2 separate regions of the Homo sapiens genome follow, and region 1 is linked to region 2. The links are contacts of gene promoters, found by promoter capture Hi-C in blood cells and fetal thymus (Javierre and others, 2016). All regions are on one chromosome and are shown on one strand. Each heading gives the region's core, a stretch centred on a gene start or on the middle of the fragment in contact. The rest is flanking DNA. Distances are from core to core; before and after follow the strand shown. Region 1 overlaps GAS7 (growth arrest specific 7). Region 2 holds the start of GAS7 (growth arrest specific 7).

Evidence for each region. The method cuts DNA at HindIII sites, captures the fragments that hold promoters and counts their contacts. A CHiCAGO score of 5 or more calls a contact.
Region 1: a contact is called between a fragment that was not itself captured here and the fragment with the promoter of GAS7 in region 2, in 3 of 17 cell types (monocytes, neutrophils and M0 macrophages). The highest score is 10.6, in monocytes.

What each region holds. Positions count from the first base shown.
Region 1 is chr17:10,154,470-10,161,545 of GRCh38, reverse strand. All of the region lies in intron 1 of GAS7 (growth arrest specific 7), which reads left to right. Among named protein-coding and RNA genes, the nearest start is that of GAS7, 41 kb to the left of the region's middle. RefSeq lists an enhancer at 4,168-4,387. The HindIII fragment of the contact is 9,434 bases long and covers 1,065-7,076 here.
Region 2 is chr17:10,194,300-10,201,869 of GRCh38, reverse strand. It overlaps GAS7 (growth arrest specific 7), which reads left to right and starts at 3,264. Exons shown (of 14, transcript NM_201433.2): 1 at 3,264-3,662. The coding sequence starts at 3,480. The HindIII fragment of the contact is 8,346 bases long and covers 2,275-7,570 here.

The DNA.
Region 1 (7,076 bases), core at 4,532-7,031, 43 kb after region 2:
GTTGACATGGTAAAATCCTGTTACAGTGCTCGAGTCAGAGGACAAGATGGCACCTACTGTAGTGGATATTTGTGGTCTGTTGTCTCTGATTCTCCTTCTTCTGGTAACGACACTTCCATTTTTCTTTGGGGAACCACAGATGCAGTGGGTTCATTGGAAAATGAGTGAACTATTGGTTGGAGCTGGTTTGAGTTTGGTTAGAACCAGGCCTCTCCTAAATCCCTCTCACTACAGTGAACCAGAAATGGACATGTCACCCAAGCTGGGTTCATGAGCTTCTTCCCTCCCTAGGACCTTTTGCTGTATAGTTTGGCAAAGAAATGCTTTCTTCCCCTGGGGTTGTTAAAGCTAGGAAGATTATAAACTTGGAGCTGCCATGACCATCTTTGGTAATACTTGGGAAGCACCTGAGAATGAAGCTAGCAAAAAACAAACAAAAACCGCAAACAAACAAACAAAACGGAGCCGCGACCCTTGTTCAAGTGCTTGGATCCATCTGCAACTGAAGGCCAGACACTCTTGAACTTCCAAGTTATATGAGCCAATAAATACTGCCATGCCTTCGTCTGTGTGTGTGTGTGTGTGTGTGTGTGTGTGTGTGTGTGTATGGTTTCAATTTCTATGGCTTCCAACTTACTGCATCCTGTCAAAAACAGCCATATTATGACCAGGTGTGGTGGCTCATGCCAGCAGTTCCCGCTACTTGGGAGGCTGAGGTAGGAGGATTGCTTGAGGCCAGGAGTTTGAGGTTTTAGTGTTTTATGATTTTGCCTGTGTGAAGCCACTGCTATTCAGCCTAGGCAACATAGTGAGACCCATCCCTGAAATAAACGACAAGCAAAGCACATACTTCCTTAACTTTCTATATTATAGTTAGAGGAAAATGTCATATTGCGCACCTGTGATGTGATCTGCCTGGTGGCAAGGGTGAGCCCAGGCAGTCATGGTGAGATTACAGAGGTTTGGTATGCCGTGGAGAGACCACTAGACAGGGAGCTGGGATTCACAGGCTCTAGGTGCCTTTCTTCTTCCTGGCTAGGTAACCTGGGCAAGTCTCTTAAGCTTTCTCAGCCTCAGCTCTCAACATCTGTAAAACAGAGGAATTAAACTAGGTGATCTTCGAAGTCGCTTTTAGCTCTATATGGTCCTGTAACTGTTTTATTTAATATCTGTGTTTTAAATGGGCAGTAGAAATAGGGACAAAATCAAAGAGAAACAATTAAAAATACCCCCTAGATCTCTACGAATTGCTTGAAGATCCACCTTTTTTTTTAATACAATTTTTAGTGTAAATTTTTTAAGTTGAAGTGTAACCTACATACAGAAGAACGGTCATACCTGGCCAGACAGGGTCGCTCATGCCTGTAATCCCAGCACCTTGGGAGGCTGAGGTGGGTGGATCGCTTGAGCTCAGGAGTTCAAGACCAGCCTGGGCAATATGGGGAAACCCTGTCCCTACAAGAAATTAGCTAGGTGTGGTGGCACGCACCTGTAGTGCCAGCTACTCAGGAGGCTGAGGTGGTTGGATTACTTGAGCTCAGGAGTTCAAGACCAGCCTGGGCAATATGGGGAAACCCTGTCTCTACAAAAAAATTAGCTAGGTGTGGTGGCATGCACCTGTAGTCCCAGCTACTCAGGAGACTGAGGTGGGAGGATCACTTGAGCCTGGGAGGCAGAGGTTGCAGGGAGCCAAGATCGTGCCACTGCACTTCAGCCTGGGCGACAGAGTGAGACACTGTCTCAAAAAAAAAAAAAAAAAGGTCACACTTCATGTGTATAGTTTGATGCGTTTTCATAAACTGGGAACACTCTTGTAATGAGCATCTACGTCAGACACGGAACTTACCCAGGACCTAAGAAACCTTCTCTCCAAGTCAGTACTCTCTTCCAAAGGTGACCCCGATCTTGACTTCTAGATTGTGTAATAATTTTGCTTGGTTTTAAATTTTACATAAACTGAGCATAGAGAAGTTATTCTTTTTGGTGATGGAGGTTGGGGGGGGTGCATCTGGCTTTTCTCACTTAACACCTTGTTTGTGAGATTCACCTATATTATGGGTGGCAGTAGTTCATTCTCATTGCTGTGTAGTGTGTCACCCTATGAATAAATACACCATCAATTATTTATCCTACTCTTGGATCTTTGGGTTCTTTCATACTATTATGAACAGTGCTACCTTGAACATTCTCGTACATGTTTTTGGTGGACGAAAGCTCTCATTTGTGTTGGGTATTCACCTAGGGGTAGGATTGCTAGGTCATAGAATATGTGTATCATATGTTTACTCTTGGGAAATACTACCAAATAGTGTTCCACTCCCACTGGCACTGTCTGTGACTTCTCATAGTTCTACATCCTTGTCTGTGTGTGCCATTGCTGGTTTTACAGATTTTAGTCATTTGGGTGAACGTGTAGGGGTCTCACATTGTGCGTGTGTGTTATCTTTAATATATATATATATATATATATATATATATATGTTTTAGAGACAGTGTCTCACTCTGTTGTCCACGCTGGAGTGCAGTGGTGTGATCTTGGCTCACTGCAGCCTCCACTTCCTGGGCTCAGGTGATGATCCTCTCACCTCAGCCTCCCGAGTATCTGGGACTACATGTGCATGCCACCATGCCCAGCTAATATTTTGTATTTTTTAGAAGAGATGAGGTTTCACCATGTTGCCCAGGCTGATCTTGAACTCCTCAGCTCAAATGATCCTCCCACCTTGGCCTCCCAAGGTGCTGAGATTACAGGTGTGCCCCACTGTGCTTGGCCTCTTTACCTTTTTAATTAGCAATTTTTCAGAATTTTATTATGAAAAATTTGAAGAGTTGCAAGAATTACAGTGCACACTTATATACCCATCATCAGATTCCGCCATTAACATTTTCTTATACTTGTTTTATTGCATATCTAACCTTCTATCCTTCCATCAATCGTATTTTTTTGGAAACATTTCAAAGTAAGTTGAGAACAGCAGTATACTTCATTCTAAGGAGTTCAGTATACAGAGCATTAACTTACATACAGTGTAATGCACATATCTTTTTTTATTTTTCTTTTTATAGAGGTGGGATCTTGCTATGTTACCCAGGCTGGTCTTGAACTCCTGGCCTCAAGTGACTCTCCTACCTCGGCCTCCCAAAGTGTTGGGATTACAGATGCGAGCCCCCTGCACCTGGCCTTGTTTTTTTTTTTTTTTTTTTTTTTTACCAAAAAAAGAAAAAACAGGATTGGCCGGGTGCGGTGGCTCACGCCTGTAATCCCAGCGCTTTGGGAGGCCGAGGTGGGTGGATCACAAGGTCAGGAGATCGAGACCATCCTGGCTAACACGGTGAAACCCCGTCTCTACTAAAAAAATACAAAAAAATTAGCCAGGTGTGGTGGCGGACGCCTGTAGACCCAGCTACTAGGGAGGCTGAGGCAGGAGGATGGCATCAACCTGGGAGGCAGAGCTTGCAGTGAGCCGAGATTGTGCCGCTGCACTCCAGCCTGGGTGACAGAGCGAGACTCCGTCTCAAAAAATAAAAATAAAATAAAATAACAGGATTTTGTTCTGTTGCCTAGGCTGGAGCGCAGTGGTACGATCATAGCTCACTGGAACCTCAATCTCCTGGGCTCAAGCAATCCTCCCATCCCAGCCTCCTAGAGTAGCTGGGACTGCAGGTGGATACCACCATGTCCAGCCTACGAGTACCTATATGCTTACTGGCCATCTGGGTTTCACATGTGTGTGAAATTGTGTGTGTCTAAGGGTGATATGCCTAAGGGTGATATGTCTAAGGGTGGCTTTTAAATTTTTTGCGGGGAGGGTGAAGAGTCCAGTTGACTGACGGGAGGACCAAGGGTATATTCATGTGACAAACCTGGTTCCAAAGTGTCTACTATTAACTGGAAGCAGATTCTCACACCTACAAGGCTTCCCAGTGTCAGGAGCCAGGAAATGCTGGTTTGTTAAAACTCAGCCCAAAATTGGGCAGAGCAGTGAAATTTCCAAGCATGATGCTCAAAGCCTTATCTTCTAATCATTTCCAGTTATGTAACTTTTTTTTCCAACGAGTGTCAGTCTAGCAGGATAACACAAAATCATTAGCAGATTTATAAAGCGGTTTGACCAACGGCTGCCAGAGGAAGTGTGACTTTGAGTTCCCCACGTAGGCGTCAGACTTGTCTTCATATTGAAAGGCAGGGGAGTTGGTGCAAAGAAGGGTGTTCCCGGGGGCAGTTGACAGTAATGGATCTTTAAAAAAATTATTCCCCTCGTCAGCTCCAAGGTTGGCAGGCCTTGCACTTCAGGGTGTCAGGCCCTGTCCCCAGCCCCTTTCCTAGGCTGAGGACTCTGGGTTTGCTGCGGGTTTGTAAGCCGTGGGTGTTTCCTCCTTCTCCCAGGGGTCCCATGTGTCAAATCCTGTGACTGGGCATGTGTGGCCTTGTCATGATGCATGGGTCTGTGTCCGGGGAGGAGCAGGGCCACCCACATCCTCATTTGGCTTTCTGTTTCTTCTCAGATGTCATTTTGTGAAGGAGCCACCGACCAAGGCCTGGTTAGGAGGAAGTGGTCACCAAAATACTTTGGTGTCCAGGGCTTGCAGAGAGCTTGTCCTCAGTGGCTGTGTCTGAACTCCACTATTGAGGGTGCCTGGAGGGGGATCTTGATTGGGAAGGCAGTGGGGAGTTTGAAGGAGGGGCTGTTTATAGAGGCTTGAGCAGGGTAGAGGATGGGGAAGCACGCCCAGAGAGGGGAAAAGGGAGGGAGGCCTGCAGCAGGAGGGGGCCGACTGCTCTAAAGAAGCCACTGCTACTCCCAACCCCAGCCTGCAGCCTGCAGCCTGCTAGGAGGGAACTGGTGAAAATACCCCAACCTCGCTTTCCTCATGAACCTTCATCTCCTACCTATGACTTTCAGTGGCCAAATTGTCTTTCACTGTAGCCAGAGGGTGCGAGGGTCCCTGGAGTCCCTGTGGGTCAGCCTTCTGGTGCAGGAGCTGCAGGAGAAGGGCCAAAGCTAGCTCCCGACAGGCAAGTGGAGAGTCACCAGCCCAGAGATGTTTCTAGAGCTTTGTCCCATGTTAAAACACAAAATTATTTGCTCTGGGAGAATATATTTAAAACTTCTCTTGACGAGTTTGGAAGAGAGCTTTGGCCTAGGAACTGATCTGAAATTAAATGCAGACATATGGGGTGGGGGATCTTGTTCATAAAGATCCTCCTCCTGCCTGGCTTGAGTCAAGAAACAGGCGAAGGGCACCCATGGCTGTGGCATGGAGGGCTAGGACAACAGAGACACTTTGCAGGAACATGGGTTTAGGAGGTGGAATGCCAGAATGGGCTCCCCAGGGTAGAGGTTTGGAGAAATCTGCTTACGAAGGAAATATTATCAAGGACCAAAAAAGTGATGGAAAGAGAGGGACATTGTGGCGGAGCTAAGGATGGGTGGAGCAAGAAGAAAAAGTCAGAGTTGGGAAAGAAGCTAGGTCGGAGTTAGAGAATCTCGTCTCTAGGCTGGGGCAATGGAACAAGTAAGGAAGTCAGTTGCATGGTTGGAAGAGAATGTATTCCCTTCGAACCTGACTCTTGGTGAGGGTTGCTCATCCATGCCTGTGTGGCATAGTGGTTCAGAGAGTGCGGGGTGTCAATGCCAGCTGTACTACTTACTAGCTGTGAGTCCCTGGGCAGATTACATAACCTTTCTGTATCTCAGATTTCTCATCTGGAAATAGGACCATTATAATACATGTCTCTTAGGGTTATTTTAAGGATCAAATGAGTAAATACAGGTAAAACTTTAAACCACTGCTGTATATTTAACCCTTAGGGTCTCCGACACTGTCATGAAGGCTGCCTCTGAACAGGAGAGGACTGAGTGGACCAGTTTTGGGATGGGAGTGGGAGGACCAGAAGAATGGTACCGCCAGGGAAGAGAAAATGGGAGGGAGGCCATGGTCTAAATTGATCCCTGACATAGCGGTGGGAAATGAGCCAAGGAAACTGGCTTGAACTAGCTTCTATTTGGAGGCTGGCCATTTGCTGCAGAGACAGTTATTTGAAGCTCACGAGTCATTCACACATTATTACAAATACTTTTATGAGGACCTTTGGTTTCTGAATAGGGCAGAGCTGGGGGTGAGCCTGAAAACATGGCTATCAGAAGGAAGAGTCTTGGGAGAAGGGAAGTGGAGGGAGAGGAATTGTTTTTACTTTAATATTTCTTGTCTTAAAAAGAGTTATTGGTGGCCGGGCACGGTGGCTCACACCTGTAATCCCAGCACTTTGGGAGGCCGAGATGGGTGGATCACCTGAGGTCAGGAGTTCGAGACCAGCCTGGCCAACATGGTGAAACCCCATCTCTACTTAAAATACAAAAAATTAGCTGGGTGTGTTGGTACGCACCTGTAATCCCAGGTACTCGGGAGGCTGAGACAGGAGAATCGCTTGAACCCGGGAGGCGGAGGTCGCAGTGAGCCGAGATCGTGCCACTGCACTCCAGACTGGGGGACAAGAGTGAGACTTTGTCTCAAAAAAAAAAAAAGAGTTATTGGTTTAGTAGGATTTAGGGATGGAGGTTCCCATGCAGACTGTGGACATGGGTTTTGTGTGTGTGTGTGTGTGTGTGTGTGTGTGTGTGTGTGTGTGTAGCCTGGGGTTGGGGATTGGGGTAATGGTAGCTCCACCTTTATGAAGCGTTTCTCCAGGACACACTTTTCCTGAACACAGTGCAGTGAGCACCACTTTTCACCTATAGTGAAGGTGTTTTCTAGCTGGCTGGGGAGCATCACCCATAGACAGCATGATACAGTTGTTAAGAGCACAGGGAAACCAGTGGGTTTGGACTGAGTTTTGAATCTCTGCTCAGTCACTCTGTTTTTCTTTCTTTCTTTTTGAAAAATAGAGATGGGCGGTTGGGCGGCAGTCTCACTATACTGCCCTGGCTGGTCTCAAACTCCTGGCCTCAAGTGATCCTCTGGCCTCAGCCTCCCAAAGTGATGGGATTACAAGCGTCAGCCACTATGCCTGGCCTGTGAATTTTTTTTTTTTGTTTTTCTTGAGACAAGGCCTCACCCTGTCATCTAAGCTGGAG
Region 2 (7,570 bases), core at 2,015-4,514:
TAGATAAAAACAATCGCTAACATAGGGGCATTTAATGTGCCAGGCACTGCTCTAAACAGTTTACATGCTTCCTCACTTAATCTTCTTAATAACTCTATGATATTAATACTACTGTTGTCTTCTTGTAGTGATGAGGAAAATGACGCTCAGAGACGTAAGTAAATCACCCAATGCCACACAGCTAGAAAGTGGCAGAAATGGGGTTTGAATAAAGGCAGTCCAGAGCCAACATATTTAACCACTAACTACATTTAACCATTTAAATTCCCATATTCCAGTTACTGGATTCGATCTCCAATTACAGACGGGGAAATAGACCCAAAGGTATGGGAAGACTTGAGGATTTGGAGGTTACCTGATTGATAAGAGATCAGCAACAGGAGTTCCACTAACTGCTAGTCCAGTCTTATTTCTATGAAGACTGACATTGGGTATCACCAGAGAGTCTTTTCTTTTCTTTTCTTTTCTTTTTTCTGAGATGGAGTCTTGCTCTGTCGCCAGGCTGGAGTACAGTGGCGTGATCTCGGCTCACTGCAACCTCCACCTTCCAGGTTCAAGCGATTCTCCTGCCTCAGCCTCCTGAGTAGCTGGGATTACAGGCACGCGGCACCACACCTAGCTAATTTTTGTATTTTTAGTAAAGATGGGGTTTCACCATGTTGGCCAGACTGGTCTCAATCTGCTGGCCTCGTGATCCGCCCGCCTTGGCCTCCCAAAGTGTGGGGATTACAGGCATAAGCTCTCACAGGCTGTGCCCAGCCTAGAGAACTTTCTCTTAAGATGCTATTTGTGGGTGAGTCACTAGGATACCTGCTTTCTGACTGGCAGGGGGGACGACAGAAAGCAACACCAGTGTACAATAAGCTAGAATTGAGTTCAAAGCTGATTCTGCTGTTGACCAGCTGTATGATGGTGAGCAAGTCACACTCTTTGAGCCCAGTTTCTTTACCTGAAAACTGGGACAACAGTCACCTCATCAGCTCGTAGGATTACAGGAATGAAATGAATTAAGTGGAGAAATTAACAGCTATTATCATTTTTGGTTGCTGCAGGAATGTTTGAGGTGGGTCAGGTAGAACTCAAGTGTATGGCATGCTGTGTAGGCTGCGATTTCTCAAGTCCAAACTGGATCACAGTTCCTCACGGGCATGCAGAGAATTAGGGTTGCAGGATGGCTGGAAATCAGTTGTCCTACCTTGATTCAGGCCACATCATCAGGAATGAAGCCTCAGAACAGCCTGCTGGAAGTCACATATTTTCCTGATACAAGGAATTGTATCTCTTTTAAAACTTCATTGGGCCAGCTATTTTTAATGACTGTTTTTGATATGAAGTTATGCAGCTCCGCTTTAAGGGACTCTTAGTGGTGACTGTGGTCAAGAGTTTGTTTCTTTATATTTCCGGCCAAGCGAATGTTCAAGACTTTGCAATTGATGGACTATTACAAATAATCTGCTTGTGTCACTTTGCCCATGGCCAGAGAACAGATGGAGGCTGCTCAGGTGAGATGGCTTAGCTGCAGACTAGGGCTCAGTAGTGACTCTTAAAACCTGGGCATGAGTATTTTTAAAAAGTTGCATAATGACTGTAATGTGCAGCCAGGATTGAGAACCATTGAACTAGGTGAAAGGCTCTGTGCCAGGGTCTGATTCAAAGCATAGACAGGTGCGCAAGATCTTCAGGCTCTTGGAGCCCGGCCTGACTGGTTTTGTAATGGATATCTAGGCAGTCATAGTAAGAGGTGAAGCTAGAGGAGGCGTTGTGGAGGGCCTGAAATGTACAGGCAGAGAAGTTTGTACCAAATTTAAAAGGCAATAGGGAGCCACAGAAGGTGACTGGGGGAGGGGGGAAGGAGTAGACAGAGGTATACAGGCGTATTAAAGGGTCCAGCTTTTTTTTTTTTTGAGACGGAGTTTCACCCTTGTTACCCAGGCTGGAATGCAGTGGTATGATCTCCGCCCACTGCAACTTCCACCTCCCGGGTTCAAGCCATTCTCCTGCCTCAGCCTCCTGAGTAGCTGGGATTACAGGCACCCGCCACCACGCCCGGCTAATTTTTGTATTTTTAGTGGAGATGGGGTTTCACCTTGTTGGCCAGGCTGGTCTTGAACTCCTGACCTCAAGTGAGCCATTCGCCTCAGCCTCCCAAAGTGCTGGGATTACAGGCGTGAGCCACCGCGCCTGGCCGAGTCCAGCTATTTACAGGCTAAAAAATGTACTTTATTTTATTTCTTTAAAATTTTTTATGGAGTAGACTAGCAAAGAAACCAAGCTTTCTTTTACTTCTGTACGGTCAGTTCAAGGTCAACATTCTGCAGCACTCAGGTTCACTGGTCCCTGGAGAGCAGGGACTGGCCCAAATGATGTTTGTAGTACCTGGCACATCGCATGGAACATGGCAGCCTCCTGGTAATGTTTGTTGACTGACTACATGAGTGTAGACTCTTTAGCCAACCCATCTCGATTTCGGGAGGGCTGGTACCCTGGGCCGGCCTTCCCTCTGCAAGTAAAAGCATTGGTGCTGTTCCTCTCACCGTTCGCCTTTCCTCCATTTATCCCCATCGACTGTTTCCAATTCTATCAACTCCGACCCCGTCTTCTCTCCATTCCGTCCCTCCAGCGTGCCACGCTGCCACCAGGCTGCTGGGCTCAGGCGCCAGGCTTCAAACCTGTCTTTCACCCATTGTTCAGTTTCCGGTGAGACAAGTTCAACCCCAGGTTCAACCACTACAATGACAACCACAAACGATCCCTCGCAGACACCTCGAAGAAGCCGCCCGCACGCCACGGGCCGCCAGGCCTACAAAGCAGGCACAGAACAGAGGGGCGTTTCCATTCCCGCGGTCCCCGGCGGTGGGGGCGCGAGTGGGAGCCCCTCTCCCCAGTGACAGGCCCCTCTGCGAGGGAGCGCGCAGCCCTCCGCGGGCGTGGCCGCCCTGGCCCCGCCCCGGCCCGCCCCCTCGCCAGTGAGCTAACCCCCGCCCGGCCACCCGGCCGCCAGCTCCTCTCCACGGCCGCCCGCCGCGGAGTCCTGCCGCGGGGGATGCTCCGGGTCCCACCTCCCGGGGGAGCTGCGCATTTCCGCGCGCCAGGGCGGCCCCGGCCCCGGTCCCGGCCCCGGCCCCGGCCAGCCCTCGCGGCGGCAGCCCGCGTTCCGCGTTCCCGGGAAGTTGTCTCCGGAGCCCGCGGCGCCTGGGTCTCCTCCCCCTGAGCCCCGCCCCCCAGCCCAGAGCTAGGATCCGCGAGCTGCCCGGCCCGGGGGCGTCGCCGCTCGCTCTGCGAAGCCAACGAGTCTCTGCTTCCCGGCGCGGAGCGCGCGTCCCCCGCCTGCCTGAGGACCCCCGCGCACCCCAGAGACGGCGCGCGCCCAGAGCGCGGGAGCCCGGAGCGCCGGGCGCCTGGGACCCCGCGGAGCCGCTGCCCAGCCCGTGGGGCTCGGCGGGAATGCAGGCTGCGCTGTGAACCCGGGCGCCAAGGCCATGTCCGGCGCTCGCTGCCGGACCCTGTACCCCTTCTCCGGGGAGCGGCACGGCCAGGGGCTGCGCTTCGCCGCGGGCGAGCTGATCACGCTGCTGCAGGTCCCGGACGGCGGCTGGTGGGAAGGCGAGAAGGAGGACGGGCTCCGTGGCTGGTTCCCGGCGAGCTACGTGCAGTTGCTGGAGGTAAGGGGCGAGGGCCGGGGCTGTAGGAGCCGGGGCTGCGGTCCTCGGTGCGCTCGCGTACCTGTTGCCCGTTCCGGGGATGCCGCAGCGTCCCGGTCGGAGGGGCGCCCCGGGGGGCAGCCCTTGCCGGCGCTACCTGTAGCTCCACGCTCCTGGGGGGCAGCGACGGCAGCGGGCGCCCCTCGGGGCGTGGGCAACGCGGACTCGCGGGGAGCTTCCACCTTGCGCCGGGCCTCCGGAGCACACCGTGGCTGCTCTGAGGAAGCGAGAACTTGTTGCCTGTGTGAGTTAAGGAGCAGGCGGGAGCGTTCCCGGCAGTGGCAGGGGCCGGTGAAGGGTCTGGCGGTCTTGGGAAGAGGCACGGAGGATCAGGGGTGCGAGAAAGTGGCACCGACTCGGTCCCGCAGCCCCGCGTCTCCACCCCGGAGTCTAGAGCCTGATGACCCGTGGACGGTCGTGCTGCCTTGGGTCAGGCTGCCTGGCCGCCTCGGGACCACCCACTTGCTGGTCAGCCGAGCCTGCTGGCCACCAGCCCGAGCCCCCTCAGCAGGCTTGATCCTGGGGTGCCGTAGCACCCCCCGCCACTGCCTGCTCCCCTGGTCCAGCTCCCCGAGGCTAAGGCTCAGAACCCGAAAGTGGCTTGTTCCTGGGGTTCTGGCCTGGCCCCAGGGCTGCACAGGACCTGCTGAGGCAAGGCGGCTGGCTGTTTATTGTCTATGTGACAGGCTGTCCTCTAATCACTGAGCTCGCAGTCACAGCCTGAGTGAGACCCGAAGTTTCTAAAGTCCTTTGTGTGTGGGGGGGTGACCTTCCAGGACATCCCCTTTACTAGAAGCCCGCCTGCCCCCAGGATTCTTGTAAAGACTAAATTAACAGTTACCTTCAATGGTGTCAGTATTCCTAAACATTCTGGTAAAACACTGCCGGAAGAAATCATGGAGGCTGAATTTATTTATTATTTAACTCTTGACCTACTTCACAGAGAAAGTAGCAAATTTTGACTGAGAATGCTCAGTGCAATTCATCGGGGGCGGGGGGAAGAAAGAAAGAAGTGAAATGGTTACAGGGTGAGTCCGCCTGAGGATGTATCCTGTGGCAACATTGTCAGCAAGAGCCTGGCCTTATAAAAGTACATTAGATTGCTTTCAGGTCCAGAGAACAACAAAATCTCTCCTAAAGGCATCAGTAGCATTTGAGCAAAGTTTAGGGGCTGCTGGAATGAGCTTTCATGGGCTGTCAGCAGAGTATGTTGCAGGAACCCTCTTGGTTCTGTATCTGGAGAATCCGGAGATACCCTACTTGTAGGAGAGGCTCAGGTGTGCCCTGCCCTGGCTTTTCCAGTTCCTTTCCCGAGATTCGGATGTAAAAGAAAGCGAACGTATTGCTTCTTACATGAGAAGCAAGGGGCCTCCTTGTTTCTAGCTTGAAGCCCTGGGATAGATACGTATTTTGGGAGTTCTTCGGGTGGTCACCCTTTTCCAGGAAATTCTGATGTGGAAATTTGGCTGATGGATGTCTGTCCGGTGAGGAGCATCCCTGGCTGGACTGAGCCAGCTGTGTTTTGTGTAGGGGTGAGGCTGGGTAGGTGTTAGTTAGCAAGAGTGGAGTGCTGCTTTTTCTTCCGGGAAAGGGACGATGGACCAGGGCCAGGGGACAAGCGGAATTAACAACTGGGACAGTTTTGGGTGTGTCTGTCCCATCCTCTGGCATATACAAAGGTAAGAGATCTCTGGTGTCTCAGGGCCTCTCAGACCATTCCTGACTAGTAACTTGCAACAGAAGCATCCATCTGCGTGAGCAATACTTCTGAGCACCTGCTTGGCACAGTGTGTGCACGTTATCACCAGTTCCCTGACAGCTCTGTGAAGGGTGAGGTACTTCCCCCATTTTATAGACAAGCAAGCTGAATATGAGAGAGGCGAAGTCAGCTCCCCAACTAGTAATGCTTGCGTGTTTTGTTAGCAGCTCAGATGACTGAGTATCACCCCCTGCGCCTGTGCCTTTTTTAAACATGATAGCCCGGGCTCAACTATGCCAAACAGCGTGTGAGCGAAGGGTCTGGATCCATGGGGAAAAGGGGCATGCGCAGCCCCTGAGGTCAGCATGTTGGTGACAGCACCGCGAAGGGGAGGCTGAACCTCTAGGGCTAAAACGAGGACAGCTGCATCCAGGAGCAACTTGGAGGATCTTCCCTGCTAACCCCAAAGTGTGACTTTACTCAGAACCAGCTGGGGGTCTTCCCACAGTGGGCCCGAGTCCTGTATCCTAAGTACTGGGTGGGACTCTTCTCAGGGCCAAAGCAGATGCAGTTTCAACAGGGGGGCATGTGGGTCAGGTGCTTGGCATCTGGGAACCTCCTACATGAGCAAGTTGGACCTCAAGGCTGAAGGCTAGGTAGAGATAGAGGACATGCAAGCAGAGTTGCTTGGGATGGGGTGAGTCCTGAAGGGCAGACTCAGAGAATGCAGAGGTCCCCAGGCTGGTGGGTAGACTGGCCAGCATCTGGACTCATGAGACTAGAGAGGGGGCCCATAGATACTGGAGATGGCGAACCTCATGAGATGTCAGCCAATGTGGTGCTGTCACTCAGCTTGCTTGGGAGCATGGAGTTCAGAAGGCCAGGGCAGCTGTTGGAGAAACAAGTACAGACAGATGGACTGTACTAGCCTCCTGGCCTAGGGATGGGATTGTGGGTACACAGATGAATATGGCATCTCTAATGTGCTCCCTACTCCAGCGGAACTTTCACCCTGATAGAAAGAGTGATACTAGGAAACCCCATCTTGGTGGAGGGGAGGGAGGCACTGAATACTGTGTGCACACTGGATACTTCCCAAGGAGATCTTCCTTGTTCAGATGAAGCAAGGGGAACCGAGAGACCCAGCCTTTGCAGGAAGCATACACGGGGGAGGGGAGTTGGGAGCTAACTCCAAGAGAGTCACCAGATCTGACCCAGTGGCCAGCTAGCCCTTGGGAGGAGGCCAGCTTGGAGGAGGTCTTGGTTTTTGGGGCAATCTCTTTGGTCAAGACTCCAAGGAAATGGTATAGCACATACTTGGCTTCCAGAGAGCAGCTTCCAGGAAAACCTCAGCACAGGCAGGGAAGTGTAGAGGTCTCTGGTAGGCCCAAGGACTCTGGCCACAAGGGTTCTTCCTACTCGGGGTGGTGCAGCTCTTCAAAGGATGGGCAGAGGGAAACACCTACCTCCAGAAAAGGAATAGGCCTTACAGCCAAGGCCCACAGCTGGTTATTAGATAAAATCAACTAGAAAAATCTTTCCTGAGGGTTTCTTCTGCTATGACGAGGGACAGGAATTAAGAAGTCTTTTTTTTTTTTTTTTTTTTTTTTTGAGACAGAGTCTCGCACTGTTGCTCAGGCTGGAGTGCAGTTGTATTTTGAGTAGAGGTGAGGTTTCGCCGTGTTAGCCAGCATGGTCTCGATCTCCTCACCTTGTGATCCACCCGCCTCGGCCTCCCAAAGTGCTGGGATTACAGGCGTGAGCCACTGTGCCCGGCCGAGAAGTCTTTTTAACATCATTTGAGAGATATGGTAGAGGAAGAGACCTGAGACCAGAGATAGGAGCTGTGGGAGCATGTTCTGCCAGCTCCAAGCTAGGCCTGAGATTGCCTCCATAGACCTGGGAACCCCACATGTGGGAATATTTCCACCAGCTTTCTAGGGTACATCAAGGCTGAGAAATAGCTCCTGGGGAAGGTGGATAGAGAATCCTAGATCTCCATCCTGGGGAAAATTTGGAGAGAAAGACATGGTACCAGGACAAGCCCAGTGGCTGGACAGGTCAGTGGTTGGAGGGTTTAATAGGGTCCAGGAATTCCTGTGGCCTGTACTTTCCTTGAATGGAGAGAAGAAATTAGGGACCTGGGGAATGTTGTAAGGCATCTACAAAA